2 separate regions of the Homo sapiens genome follow, and region 1 is linked to region 2. Evidence: promoter capture Hi-C in 16 types of primary human blood cells and fetal thymus (Javierre and others, 2016). All regions are on one chromosome and are shown on one strand. Each heading gives the region's core, a stretch centred on a gene start or on the middle of the fragment in contact. The rest is flanking DNA. Distances are from core to core; before and after follow the strand shown. Region 1 overlaps ZNF383 (zinc finger protein 383). Region 2 holds the start of ZFP82 (ZFP82 zinc finger protein).

Evidence for each region. Contacts are between HindIII fragments. The CHiCAGO score rates a contact against its expected background, and 5 or more counts as called.
Region 1: a fragment that was not itself captured here is called in contact with the fragment with the promoter of ZFP82 in region 2 in 8 of 17 cell types (total CD4 T cells, naive CD8 T cells, activated CD4 T cells and 5 more); the score reaches 8.0 in total CD4 T cells.

Annotation. Positions count from the first base shown.
Region 1 is chr19:37,235,743-37,239,912 of GRCh38, forward strand. ZNF383 (zinc finger protein 383) reads left to right here. Exons shown (of 6, transcript NM_001387601.1): 5 at 237-332. Among named protein-coding and RNA genes, the nearest start is that of LINC01535, 14 kb to the right of the region's middle. The HindIII fragment of the contact is 3,665 bases long and covers 117-3,781 here.
Region 2 is chr19:36,415,945-36,420,456 of GRCh38, forward strand. It overlaps ZFP82 (ZFP82 zinc finger protein), which reads right to left and starts at 2,700. Exons shown (of 5, transcript NM_133466.4): 1 at 2,548-2,700. RefSeq lists an enhancer at 2,069-2,228. The HindIII fragment of the contact is 3,270 bases long and covers 192-3,461 here.

The sequences.
Region 1 (4,170 bases), core at 699-3,198, 820 kb after region 2:
CTCAGCTGCTTTTCAGGTTACTAGCTGAATTTCTATTCTTTATTACCAAACAAATGGTTTGAGCTGAAATGAAAAGGAAGAGTGGGAAATTGGCAACTCCAGTGGGCTGTGGTTGAAGCTTCATCTTCATCTTTCTTTGGCTGTTCCTGTAGTGGCATCTCTTCCTGTGATCATCAAGGGACTGGATCTCCTTTACCCCCAGCATAACCATGTTCCATATCTTTTCTCGTGAGCAGGACTTTACACTCCTAAGCCTCAAGTGATCTCCTTATTGGAACAAGGGAAAGAGCCCTGGATGGTTGGCAGAGAGCTTACAAGAGGCCTGTGTTCAGGTAAGTGAGAAATGACCGGACAGGAGAAAGTCACGATAGGTCAGAACTCAGCTGGTCAGGGAGGAAACAGCACCTTTGAGATGTTATCCCTGAAGCTCCCATCAAGAAACTAGGCCAGTGGAGAAAATGAAGTCCTTTTAGCATAGTTGTTAAATAACCTGTTTCGCCCTTTTCCTCACTTACCACTATTTCTACTACTCCTCTCCAATCCTCCTCTTAATTTCAAGCAGAAGGTACCTTTTACTTCTCTAAAAAAAACCCTATTTTACCCGTATTTTAGATTCAGCTGCTTGCTAGCTTTTTTTACTCTCTCTCTTTTTTTTTCTTTTTTTTTAAAGGGTCTGGCTCTGTCACCCAGGCTAGAGTGCAGTGACATGATCATAACTTATTGTAGGCTCAAACTTCTGGGCTTAGGCAGTCTCCCTGCCTCAGCCTTCCAAGTGGCTGGGACCGTAGGCCTGTGCCACCATGCCTGGCTAATTCTTTTTCTTCTTCTGCATTTTTTTTTTTTTTTGAGACGGAGTCTCGCTCCGTCGCTCAGGCTGGAGTGCAGGGTGCGATCTTGGTTCACTGCAACCTCTGCCTCCCGGGTTCAGGCGATTCTTCTGCCTCAGCCTCCTGAGTAGCTGGGACTACAGGCGCATGCCACCATGCCCAGCTAATTTTTGTATTTTTAGTAGAGGTGGGGTTTCACCATATTGGCCAGGCTGTTCTTGAACTCCTGACCTCATGATCTACCCGCCTCAGCCTCCCAAAGTGCTGGGATTACAGGCATGAGCCACCGCGTCCGGCCCCTCTTCTGCATTTTTTAGACTTGTACAGGTGTTTTCTACTACCACTCCCCAAAATAATATAATTGCGTCTGTATACACACATGTGAACACACACACACACACACACACACACACACACACACACACAGAGACACACACACACACACCCCTTGCCCAAGTACTGGTCTTCATTATAGCTGCCTGTCAGTGACCTGTTTTATCAGACTGTCTTCAATGTTTCCTTTATGGAACGTTTTTTAATTTCCTGGTTTGTGTAAGGGAATCTTCCAGGTGCTACAGTTTACTAATTGTGTTACCTTTACAAATTCAAGGTCCAAAAGTGGTGCTAAAATATATACATATATGACTTCCACAAAGTAGAGTAGTATAAAAGAGAAATGAGATAAGGAGTTTAGCAGAAAGTCAAAGGCTAACTATGTAGAAGTGGAATTAATCCCTATTGAAGTAGTAGGTGGAGCCTTGGAAGTGACTGCAATCACTATGTATAGAGATATTGTTGGGGCCAAGAAAAAAAAAGGATCTGTGCCTATATTAAAAAGGAAGAGGTGGCAGAGCAGGAGAGATTTGGGATGAAGTAGGAGAACCAGAAGAGTACTTATTGAGCACTACTATGTACCAAGCATTGGTCCAAGGGCTGGGACTGTAGTATTCATGAAGGCATTCTAAAGTTCTGCACTTCTGAAGCCTACATTCTAGAGGGTAAGAGAGAAAATGTCTTAGTCCATTTTGTGCTGTTACAGCAGAATACCTCACATCGAGTAATTTATAAAGAACAGACATTTATTTTCTCATAGATCTGGAGGCTAAGAATTCTAAGATCAAGGCACTGTCATCTGATGAGGGCCTTCTTGCATCTTCGTGTGGCAGAAGGCAGTAGGGCAAGAGAGCCAACTCCTTCCATCAAGCCCCTTCGTAAGAGCACCGAAACCCATCCTTGAGGGATGGGTCCTTGAAGCCCGATCATCTCTTAAAGGCCTCACCTCTTCGTTTTTGGAATTTTTTTTTTTTTTTTGAGACAGGGTCTCACTCTGTCACCCAGGCTGGAGTGCAGCGGCACAATCATGGCTCACCACAGCCTCAACCTCCCGGGCTCAGGTGATCCTCCCACCTCAGCCTCCCGAGTAGCTCGGCCCACAGGCACACGTCACCACGCCCAGCTAATTTTTCTATTTTTTGTAGAGACAGGGTTTCGCCATGTTGCCCAGGCTGGTCTCTAACTCCTGGGTTCAAGCGATCCACCCACCTTGGCCTCCCAAAGTGCTAGGATTAAAGGCTTGAGCCACTGTGTCTGGCCCCCACCTCTTAATACTATCACATTGGCAACAGCTGAATTTTGAAGGAGAGACATTCAAACCATAGCAGAAGATAAACATGAATGTCAAGTATATATGTATAAAACAATATTAGCATGACATTAATATTATATGATATATAAATATTTTTAGAATTATATATCACTTACATTTATCTACATGTAACTAATATATTGGTATAGTATAAATATATATCATATATTAATAATATTTCTATATTATTATATGTCCATGTGTATATGAAATGTCAGGTGGTGGGTGATAGATAAGTGCTGTGAAGAGAGGCTAGAGAGGGCCTCTCTGATGAGGTGTTCTTTTAGTGAAGACTTGAAGGAAGTGAGGGAACAGGTAATGTAAATATCTGCTAGGAGAGATTCAGGCAAAGGGAACAGGAAGAGCCAAGTACTCGAGTTCAGAGCTTTTTGGCAGCCACCATTATGGCTGAAATTGAATGAGCAAAGCGGGAATTGTAGAAGAGGAGATCAGGAAAGTAGCAGGCTTATGAGTGTTTGCATGCTGGGTGCAGGTCAGGATGGGAGTTGGATGTACCTGTAGATGATTTTGGGTCTTGTGGACCTTGAATTTTACTCCGAATGAGGTGTAAATCCATTGAATGATTTAGCAGAGTGATATTATCATGTTTGCAAAGGATCATTCTTGCTCTAGGGGTTCCTAACTTTGGATTCCTTTAGGTAGAATTCAGGGAGTCCATGAACTTGGATGAGAAGAAAAAAATACATCTTTTTGGTTTTTTTTGAGACGGAGTCTCACTCTGTCACCCAGGCTTGAGTGCAGTGGTGTGATCTCAGCTCACTGTAGCCTCCACCCCGCAGGTTCAAGCGATTCTACTGCCTCAGCCTTCTGAGTAGCTGGGATTATAGGCGCCTGCCACTGCGCCCGGCTCATTTTTGTATTTTTAGTAGAGATGGGGTTTCACCATCTTTGCCAGGCTGGTCTTGAACTTGTGACCTCATGATCCACCTGCCTTGGTCTCCCAAAGTGCTGGGATTACAGGCATGAACCACTGTGCCCAGACCAAAAATACATCTTTATATTTAATAACCTCTAATTGAGATATAACATTTCTTCCTATCGTGATGTATGGGACAAACCATAGTAGCAGTAGTAGTAGTAGTAGTTACTGTGACTTTGACATTAATGGAAATCACAGATACGTTCATATTATTTTACTGTTATTGTAGGCATATTGAAATATTTATGCTCATCACTACTTCAGAATTAATGTAGTACTAGGCTTGCCACTAGGTCTTGTTTAATGTTTTACTAGAGAAGAAAACTCCAGGCAGAGAGAAGAACCCCTGTGAAGGTTCTGATGGGGAAAAGCTTGGTGTGTTTGAAGGACTAAATGCCAGTGTTGGTGGGCCCCATGATCAAGTGGGAGTGGAGTGTGAGTCAGGGTTTGGATAGACAGGCAGGAGCCACAGCATTCAGCCTTTGCAGGAGATTGTAAGGAGTTCGGACTTTGAGCAGTGGAAACCTAAGCCAAATGATACTATTCCCTGAATAGATTAAAGGGTGAGAGAGCTTGGTGGGGAGACTGGTTGAGGAGGCTACTTCACTGGTCTGGGTAAGAGTTGATTCTGGTTTGGAAGATGACATTGGCAGTGGAAGACAGAAGAGGGCAGTTTCAAAACTTTACTTGGGAGCTTAACTAGATGAAAGTTACTGCAAGATCTGCCGGGCGCAGTGGCTCACGCCTGTAATCCCAGC
Region 2 (4,512 bases), core at 1,450-3,949:
CCAAAGCAGACAGAACAGTGTGGTAAACAACAGTTTATCTTTTTTTCTCCACTAAGAAACTAGTTTTATATTATGTATAATCCTTGCAAAATGTTTTATAAATCTCTAGCTTATTAAGAGCGATTCATACATGATTAAAGGTTTTGTGAGTCATCTTGTTCAAAACTATTGCTTAGACAACATCGATCACAAGCTTTTTTTCCTTCTCATAATTAACAGTATTTATTAATGGCAAAAAGCTGCATCACATGGAGTGTGGCTTATTTAATCATTTCCTACTATTAGACACTAATTTTGTGTCTAACATTGAAAAACATTCTCAAAGGTTACAGACTTTGATTCTAGGCCAGTAGATCTGAATCTTAATGGATCATGTTTGATAATCTCATTAAATTACATATTTTCTCCCCATAAAAGTGGCATATTAACAGATATCTATAACAATTTTACGTACAATTTCAAAGAGTATCTGGTCCCCTGAAAGCCTCAAATGAATTCAAATTACTTCTGGTTAAGAATTCCTGTTCTATGGCCGGGCACGGTGGCTCATGCCTGTAATCCCAGCACTTTGGGAGGCCAAGGCGGGCAGATCACCTGAGGTCGGGAGTTCAAGACCAGCCTGACCAACATGGAGAAACCCCGTCTCTACTAAAAATACAAGATTAGGCAGGCGTGGTGGTATATGCCTGTAATCCCAGCTACTAGGGTGGCTGAGGCAGGAGAATCGCTTGAACCTGGGAGGCGGAGGTTGCGGTGAGCTGGGATCACACCATTGCACTCCAGCCTGGGAAATAAGAGCGAAACTCCGTCTCAAAAAAAAAAAAAAAAAAAAGAATTCCTGTTCTAGGCTGGGGGCGGTGGCTCATGCCTGTCATTCCAGCACTTTGGGAGGCCGAGGCAGGCAGATCACTTGAGGCCAGGAGTTTGAGACCAGCCTGGCCAACATGGTAAAACCCGGTCTGTACTAAAAATACAAAAATTAGCTGGGTGTGGTGGTGCAGGCCTGTAATCCCAGCTACTTGGGAGGCTGAGGTATAAGAATCGCTTGAACCACGGAAAGGGAGGTTGCAGTGAGCTGAGATTGTGCCACTGCACTCCAACCTGGGTGACAGAGCAAGACCCTGTCTCAAAAAAAAAAAAAAAAAAAAAAAAAAAGAATTCCTGTTTTAGACTATTTAAGCATCTGATCTGGCTCATTTATTTTTTACTAGGAAATACTCACCACAATTGGCTTAGTATTTTCATTTTCCCCCCATCTATAGAAGGCTGATGTAGAATTGCTCCAAATCACTACTTAAGAATACATAACTAAGGTTTATTAAGTACTAACGAGGTCTCAGGAACTGTTCTAAGAACTTTACACATAGTAATTAAAAGAAGGCCCACAGAAGTAATGAAAAACATCTACCAAATGGGTATGTGCATACAGGCTCTCGGGAGGGGACCTAGGTATCAGCTCAATGGACAGGACATTTATGGAGAATGAAACAAATATTCTCATGTCCTAAGAAATAAGAATGCATTTCACAGAAGAAAGCAGAAACACCCACTCGCCTCGACCTTGACTTAAACAGGCAACAGCAATTCATTCCTCCTCCCGCTCGGACCCCTTTTCTTAAAGAATTGGGCAGGACTGGCTAATAAGGGAACCAGGCTTTTCTTGCAGCCCAGCCTCGCATAGGGCACAATGCCCCCACCGCCCACCCACACATAACCAGAGTAACATAAGAGAGATGGTGTTGTTAACTCTTCCCAGTATCAAAGAAAGGCCAGGGTCATGGATGCCCGGGGCTAGAACTGGAGTTCACAATAGCTTCCTGGAAGCAATGCTGTGGTTCTGAAACCTGCAGCTGGACTCTTCAGAGTTGTGAGTGCACGTGCGTGGGTCCGGGTCCGCGAGGAGGTGGTGTGGGAGTCCCTTCCAGGAGCAAGCCTGGGCGGGAGCGGGGGCTCGTTCAGTTCTAATATTCCTATCCCAAGGTCGGGTCTGAGCCTTGTTTCGCTGTTGCCCAGGCTGGAGAGTAGTGGTGCTATCATAGCTCGCTGCAGCCTCAATCTCCTCCTAGGCTCAAGCCATCCTCCCGCCTCAGCCTCTCGAGTGGCTGGGACCACAGGAGCACGCCATCACACCCGGCTCATTTTTTAAATTTCTGGTACAGATGGGAGTTTCGCTTTGCTGCCCAGGCTGGTCTCGAACTCCTGGCTTCCAGCGATCCTCCCGCCTCGCTCTCCCAGAGCTCTGGGATTACAGATGTGAGCCACCTGGTCCGGCCTAGTCTGCGCGTTTCTGCTGGGAGTCTTTGGCGTGCAGAAACTGACCGAGGGCCATTTCTCTGCAGCTGGGCCCGGTGTGGGCAGAGGATGCTGGGGTCAGTCACGCACTCCACGGCCACAACAACCTTCGCTCATACAATAGTCTCTGCACCCAAGTCAGCCGCACAGACTCCGTCACGTCCCAGCCCCGGCCCCGTCACGCCCACGACACACACACCCGGGCCTGAGGCGCGGGCTCCCGCCCCTCTGCGATACTGCAGTGGCCCCGCTTACCTCTCTTTACCCCCTGGGCCGCAGCGCTTTTCCTACAGATTACCAGGACCGACGCTCCGGGCCAGGACTGCTCACTCGGGGCGCGAACCCGAGGCACAGCGATGCCCGAACGGAGGAAGCCGCTGCCGGGTCACGCCACAATCCCCGGGGCCTAACGGGCTGCGCGCGGAGGCTGCTGGGAGGGCCGGGCGCGCTCACGGAGTGCGCAGGCGCGGCCAGTCTCAAGGGTCCGCTCGCTGGTGCAGCCCCTGCTCTGCGTGAACCCGGAGCCGGAGCTAGGTCCGTCCCAGCGAGGCTGCGCTTCGAGTCCCTTAGCGCCTGGGGACGGCGCGGCAGGGCCTGGAGGGGAGCGGGGACAGATGGCTGGCGCGTTAAAGAGGGGCGCCCGCGACCGCCTCTCTATAGTGCCAACTAGGGAGCCCTGTGAGCGAGGACGGCGCTGCGAGTCTGTCCCTGGCGCGCTCCTGGGTGGGATTCTTTCACTGGGTGTGGCTGTTGGGATTTGAGACCGTGTGACTCCGGAGATTCGGGGAAGCCAGTTCCTATATTTTCCATTTCTGTATTTTTAAATGGTAAAAACAATGAAAAGGAGAACAATATTTTGTGAAATATGAAAATCATACATGTCAAATTTCAGTGTCCATAAATAAAAGTTTTATTGGAACATAGCCGTGTTTGATTGTGTACTGTCTATTGCTATATTTGAGCTACAAGGACAGACTCGAGTAGTTACACAGACCAGATGGCCCACGCAGCCTAAAATACAGTCAGTTCTCACTATTCACAGTAGTTATGGTCTATAAACTTGCTACAAACACGGAATTAGTGAATACCATTCCACTGCTTCTAGGGGAAATACAGGGTTAGTTTCCTGTAAGCATCTGGTCACATTTTAGTCAACCGATGAATGCATAAGCTTATTTTATTGTGTTTATTTTCTTTTTTTCTTTTTTTTTTTTTTTTTTGAGATAGGGTCTTGCTCTGTCACCCAGGCTGGAGTGCAGTGGTGGGATCTTGGCTCACTGCAACCTCCTCCGCCTCCCGGGTTCCAGCAATTCTCCTGCCTCAGCCCCCAGAGTAGCTGGGAATACAGATGCATGTCACCATGCCCAGCTGATTTTTGTATTTTGTAGAAACGGAGTTTCACCATGTTGACCAGGCTGGTCTCAAACTCCTGACCTCAGGTGATCCACCCGCCTTGGCCTCCCAAAAGTGCTGGGATTATAGGCATGAGCCACCGCGCCTGGCCTTATTGTGTTTCTATTTAAACACTTTAATATATATTATTGATTCATTAACATTGAACTCATGGCCAACAGCTCCATAACTCATGCCTGAATGAAGCTTATCTAACACATGTATTTTTTCTGTAAGACACATGACCGCTTTCTCATTCATAGGAACATCAACAGCACTTTAGTACTACTACATTTGGGGTCCCTTTGAAACAGCAAAATCACCAGCAAAAAACAAAAATATGAGAAGCCAAGGTACTAAATGGACTGCAAAAAGGGTACCTGTTTACAGTATGAGAGCTGAAATAAGAAGATAGAGGGTCACTTTGTTTGACTTTGGCTGAGAACATGCCTGTTAAGGGACTCAAAAAGGTTCACCGCTCTTCGGATGTCCACAAATGACCACAAAGGTGCTGCAAATATTGACTCTGGGTTTATAAAAAAGTTTTAGCAAGTAGATGAATTCACAAATTCAGAATCTGTGAATGAAGATTGACTGTATTTACTATCAGGCCCTTTAAAGAAAAAGTTTGCCAATCCCTGTTTTTATATGTCCCTCTTAGTTATACAGCTAGTGTTTAAAAACTACTTGAAATAATTATTTTCCCTGTGCCACCAATTATGTCTATAATTGATTGTACCCCATTAAATAAGCACAAAGAAAAAAGAAAGCTTTCTTTATAGAAGAAGGCCAGCTAATAACTATCAAGGGTTTGATTTTACGTGGCTT